Linked DNA regions of Homo sapiens: region 1 is linked to region 2. Evidence: promoter capture Hi-C in 16 types of primary human blood cells and fetal thymus (Javierre and others, 2016). All regions are on one chromosome and are shown on one strand. Each heading gives the region's core, a stretch centred on a gene start or on the middle of the fragment in contact. The rest is flanking DNA. Distances are from core to core; before and after follow the strand shown.

Evidence for each region. The method cuts DNA at HindIII sites, captures the fragments that hold promoters and counts their contacts. A CHiCAGO score of 5 or more calls a contact.
Region 1: a fragment that was not itself captured here is called in contact with the fragment with the promoter of TIFA in region 2 in 1 of 17 cell types (naive B cells); the score reaches 6.2 in naive B cells.

What each region holds. Positions count from the first base shown.
Region 1 is chr4:112,601,122-112,603,821 of GRCh38, forward strand. It overlaps ZGRF1 (zinc finger GRF-type containing 1), which reads right to left. Exons shown (of 28, transcript NM_018392.5): 10 at 2,403-2,576. Among named protein-coding and RNA genes, the nearest start is that of ZGRF1, 34 kb to the right of the region's middle. The HindIII fragment of the contact is 4,836 bases long and covers 1-2,700 here.
Region 2 is chr4:112,284,635-112,287,472 of GRCh38, forward strand. It overlaps TIFA (TRAF interacting protein with forkhead associated domain), which reads right to left and starts at 1,270. Exons shown (of 2, transcript NM_052864.3): 1 at 1,006-1,270. RefSeq lists enhancers at 43-222, 253-372 and a silencer at 1,013-1,322. The HindIII fragment of the contact is 2,980 bases long and covers 1-2,814 here.

The sequences.
Region 1 (2,700 bases), core at 41-2,540, 320 kb after region 2:
TAAACTAGGCCAGGCGTGGTGGTTCACACCTATAATCCCAACACTTTGGGGGGCTGAGGCAGGAAGATCGTTTGAGCCCAGGAGTTCAAAACCAGCAGCAACCTGGTGAAACAACATCTCAAAAAAATTTTAAAAATTAGCTGGGCAGCCGGGAGTAGTGGCTCATGCCTGTAATCCCAGCACTTTGGGAGGCCGAGGCAGGCAGATCACTTGAGGCTAGGAGTTTGAGAACAACCTGGCCAACATAGCAAATTGTTAAGCTAGTTCTAAATGTATATGCAACCATACTAAAAATACAAGAAATTAGCCAGGCATGGTGGCGCATGTCTGTAATCCCAGCTACTCGGGAGGCTGAGGCAGGAGAATTGCTAGAACCCAGGAGGCAGAGGTTTCAGTGAGCTGAGATCACGCCACTGCACTCCAGACTGGGTGACAGAGCAAGACCTTGTCTAAAAAAAAAAAAAAAATTAGCTGGGCATAGTGGTGGGCACATGTAGTCCCAGCTACTCGAGAGTCTGAGGCAGGAGGATTGCTTGAGTCCAAGAAGTTGAGGCTGCAGTGAGCCATGTTCATGCACTGCACTCCAGCCTGGGTGACAGAGTTAAGACTCTGTCTCAAAAAACAACAAAAAAAGAAAAATTTTTGATTCATCAAAGATACCATTAAGAGTGAAAAGGTAAGTAAGGGTCAGGAAAGATATTTGCAAAGCATACAACTGACAATGAGTAGGTATCCAAATTATATAAAGAATTCCAGAAAATTTTTTAAAAGATAAGCACGTCAATTAAAAAATGAGGAAGAGGCCAGGCATGGTGGCTCACGCCTGTAATCCCAGCACTTTGGGAGGACGAGGCCGGCAGATCACCTGAGGTCAGGAGTTCGAGACCAGCCTGACCAACATGGAGAAACCCCATCTCTACTAAAAATACAAATTAGCTGGGCTCAGTGGCACATGCCTGTAATCCCAGCTACTTGGGAGGCTGAGGCAGGAGAATCGCTTGAACCCAGGAGGCAGAGGTTGCAGTGAGCCAAGATCACGCCATTGCACTCCAGTCTGGGCAACAAGAGCAAAACTCTGTCTCAAAAAAAAAAAGGAAGAAAGCTGAACAGGCACTACATCAAAGAGGATAAAGAGATGGCCAATAGGCATACAAAAAAGGTCCCAACCTCACTATCAGGCAGGAAAATGCAAATTAAAACTACAACTGAAGTACCAATATATACCCACCAGAATAGCTAAAACTGAAAACCAAAAACAGCATCAAGTGTTGGTAAAGATGTAGAGTGATGGGCACTCTCATACACTCCTAATGGAAATGTAAATTATAAAAACCACTTTGGAAATCAGTTTTGCATTATGTACTAAAAGTAAATATATCCTATCCAGTGACTCAATGATGCTACTCCTAGGTAATATAACCAACATAAGTATGTCACGCATGTGTGTATATGTACATGTTCATGATGGTACTTGAATGTTCACAGCAGCAGTATCTGTAATAGTCCCTTAACACAAATAACACAAACATCTGAAGAATGGATAAATTGGGATATATTTATGCAACAGAATACTACACCAGCAATTAAAATGAATAAATTATAGCCACAGGCAACAACATAAATGAATTTCAGAATTGCAATATTAAACAAAAGAGGGCAGACACAAAGAATACACTGTGTATGATTCTATTTATATAAAGTTTTAAAAGCAAAACTAATAGATGGTTATAAGTCAAGACAGTGGATATCTTAGGGAAAAGTGAAAAGGGTAGTGATTGAAAAGGGGCAGAAGGAGAGCTTCTGAGATGCTGAGAATGCTCTATTTGTTAAAGGTGGAGGTTATATGAGTATGCTTTGTGATGATTTACTTATTTCATATATGTATTATGCTTTTTTTTCTTTATTTCTTCTCATATGTATTATGCTTTGACAAAAAGGGAAATTTAAAAAAAAATCTCTTTGATGAACACTGTTTCAAATACATGCTTATCATTCTAACCTCATGACCTCTATTTTCATCCCCAGAAATCTGCCTTTGGTAGCAACTAGAGGTACTCAGTGTCATATTTAAAGAGAGAAGGGAAATATCAGAAGAAAAAAAATCTATTAGATGTTAAACAGGTGAGTATTTTCTTTGTGTAATGTACCTGTTTGCTTTTGTCATGAATTTATAGTCTTCTCTGAAGTGAAAAGTAATCTGTTAAACTCCCAATGTTAAAAAAGTAATACATCTTTCAAGTAAAATACTTTTGTTATTTAGTTTTGAGATATTATGCTTCTTGTCAATTTACTGTACTCCTTTTTAACTTATAACTGTATAAACAACTATACTATTTTCACAAAATGTAGTATTAACATAAAGAAAATGATTTGGCAAAATGCAACTATAAAAATATTTTTACCTGCAAGAAGTCAATCTGCATACACGTGCTAGGTAACTCTGGTGTCTCTGTCATAAAGTTTTCATACTCAGTGCTATCTGGAAACTGACTGCATCCTAGCTGTGAGCTGTGTCCTCTGACCATTACACCACTAGTAGCTGATCCTTTTACTTGATGTCCTTGAAACTCAACAGGCTACAGGTAAATTATTAAAAATAAGAACTGCATAACTATATGTTGACATATATATTCACAAAGTAAACACACAGAATACAATACATAATTCAGCTTTTTATTACAGGAACTATTGTAAATACCA
Region 2 (2,838 bases), core at 20-2,519:
ATATTCTCAAGAAAGAGTATGTCTTTGGGTGGTTGCAAGTAGGAAGTTTCAAGGCTTTTCTCCCTAACGAATACCGAACACTGAGCACACAGGAGGGGAACAGAAACTTGGAAGCAGAGCAAAGGACCAAGTTATCCTCCTGTCTAACCCTGCTCAACAGGATCACCCTGAAGTGTGGCTCTGAAGATATTTGTGAACTCTGGCACAGCTGTTTGGCAGAATTAATACTAAAACCACAGGTCTTGCAAAAACAAAGAATCAAAAAAAAAAAAAAAAAGTGAAAACCAAACAGCAGGAGGAAACCCTTAGGAAAGCTCGGTGTCTTTCAGACATGAGATTTTCTTTCTCCCACTCTACTTGACTGGCCTGACCTGGGGTCCAGTCCCACTTCCTGGTGGCTGCGGAAATCCGCAGTGAGGCTCAGTGTGGATTTTGGCTTCAGAGGATTTGGGAAATTCCACCTTTCAATCTGAAATCTGGGGAAAGTCCCAGAAAACAACGGATTACTATATTTCTCTCATGAACCAGACTGAAGCAAGGAGTCAGGTCTAGGACCAAGGACCTCGGCACTCCAGGGAGCCCAGGGCCCCTCAGAAAGGTCTCGCTTGGCCACCGAGAGCGTGGGGCCGTAGCAGTTGGCAAGCGGGGGAGGGGGGTCACGCACAACTGCTCTGGAGCCACACTGCATAAATGGCATTCGTTTTTGTTTTCTGATTAGAAAAACGTTGAAAAGAATACCAAAGTACAGAGAAAACACACCCCCATCTCCAATGTTTCCTCATTTATGTAAATATTCTCATATTTTATAAAACAGGGAGGTGCTGTCTATAATTTTTGCAGGCTTTCCTTAGCATATGGTGAGCGTGTGCCAGGTGAGCAGGAGCAGCGGGGGATGACTTCCGATCCGACACCCCCAAAATCTCCTGGACAAAGCTGCTGTCTTTGCGGGATAAACAGAAAAGGGCCAGTCCCCACCTCACCCCCAGCCCGCCGCCCCGCAAGTACCTGGGGCTGGGGAGTCAGTGAACTCTCTTCAGCTGTTCGGCTCTCCCGGCTCAGAGCGAGGGGAATCGAGGAGACTGGGCGCAGGATGGGGGTGGACACCCGGCCGCTGCTCCTCCGCGCGGGTAAGTGTGAGCCCCGGGGTGCGGGGAACCGAGCCAGGGACCAGTGACCGCGAGCCGCCGATCCTCCCGCGCTCCCGCGCGCGCGGCCTGCCTTCCCACTGGCTGGCAGAGCACGTCCTCTCGCGCCCGGGGCCTTTGTAAAGAGCGCAGCGGTGGCGCGGAGGTTTTCAGGCTCCGCCCGCTCCACTCGCGCTCCCGCCCCTTCCTTCCTCTCGAGGTGACCCGGCAGCTGGCGCCTTTCTCACCAGGTACCCAGCCCCCTGGCCGCCTCTCTCAGTTCTCTGGCAGGGTTTGGTGCGCGGTACACCGACCCGGACCGCGCCTTCCCAAACGAGTGGCCTCTCCTCCAGCCCGATTGGCGAGCTAGAGAAAAGAAGGGAACTGGATCACTTCAGCATTAAGGAGGACTTTTCCCCAAAATGAGTGTTGCCCCAGGGCGTGGGCAGGCGGGGAGCTGAACTAATCTTTCGGTGACTCCAAGGATACCAAGCAAGCCAGTGCGTGGCATGCACGAGCTCCTCTAATCATCGCAGTCCCCCTTACACATGAGTAAACCGAGGCTCAGAGAATGGTGGAGTGTGGCGAGCAGAAGTGGAATTTTTTTTTTCTTTTTTTCTTTTTTTGAGACGAGTCTCACCGTGTCGCCCATGCTGGAGTGCAGTGGCGCCATCTCGGCTCACTGCAACCTCTGCCTCCCGCAGAGGCGGGATTTGAACTTGCTCCAGGTTGCCCTCGCCTTACACCCAGCAGAGCAGTCCAGTCGCTTTCTCTCCTGCCGCTTGCATCGTAATGGACATCCAGAGTCCACAAGTAAAAGCTGGTACATGATGAAATGGGAAACACCTCTCAGGAGTCCTTTATAGCTTAGAAGAAGGTAATGCTACCTTTCTGCCTCAGTGAAAAGATTTGGAATCACCTAAGTGTGAAGAACCTAAGGAGAGTAGGTGTCAAGAGAGGATAGACCCGGGTGCCGTGGCTCAAACCTGTAATCCCAGCACTTTGGGAGGCCGAGGTGGGCGGATCACGAGGCCAGGAGTTTGAGACCAGCCTGGCCAACATGACGAAATTCCATCTCTACTAAAAATACAAAAGTTAGTTGGGCTTGGTGGTGGGTGCCTGTAATCCCAACTACTCGGGAGGCTGAGGCAGGAGAATCACTTGAATCCGGGAGGCAGAGGTTGCAGTGAGGCCGGGATGGCGCCATTGCACGCCAGTCTGGGCAACAGAGTGAGACTCTGTTTAAAGAAAAAGAGAGAGAGAGGATAGACACTGTAGAGACCAGCAATCCCTGTTGGGAACCAGTGTCATGGAAGACTTTTTCCACAGACTGGGGTTGGGGCCACGGGAGATGGTTTCAGGATGATTCAAGCCCATTTCATTTATTGTGCACTTTATTTCTATTATTATTGCATTGTAATATATAATGAGATAATTATACAACTCACCATAATGTCGAATCAGTGGAAGTCCTGAGCTTGTTTTCATGCAACTAGACGGACACATTTGGGGGTGATGGGAGACAGTGACAGATCATCAGGCATTAGATTCTCATAAGAAGCGGGCAACCTAGATCCCTCCCATGTGCAGGGTTCCTGCTCCTATAAGAATCTAATGCCCCAGTGATCTGACAGGAAACAGAGCTCAGGCAGTAACACAGGTGACGGTTAGCAGCTGTAAATACAGATGAAGCTTCGCTTGCTGGCCCTGAGCA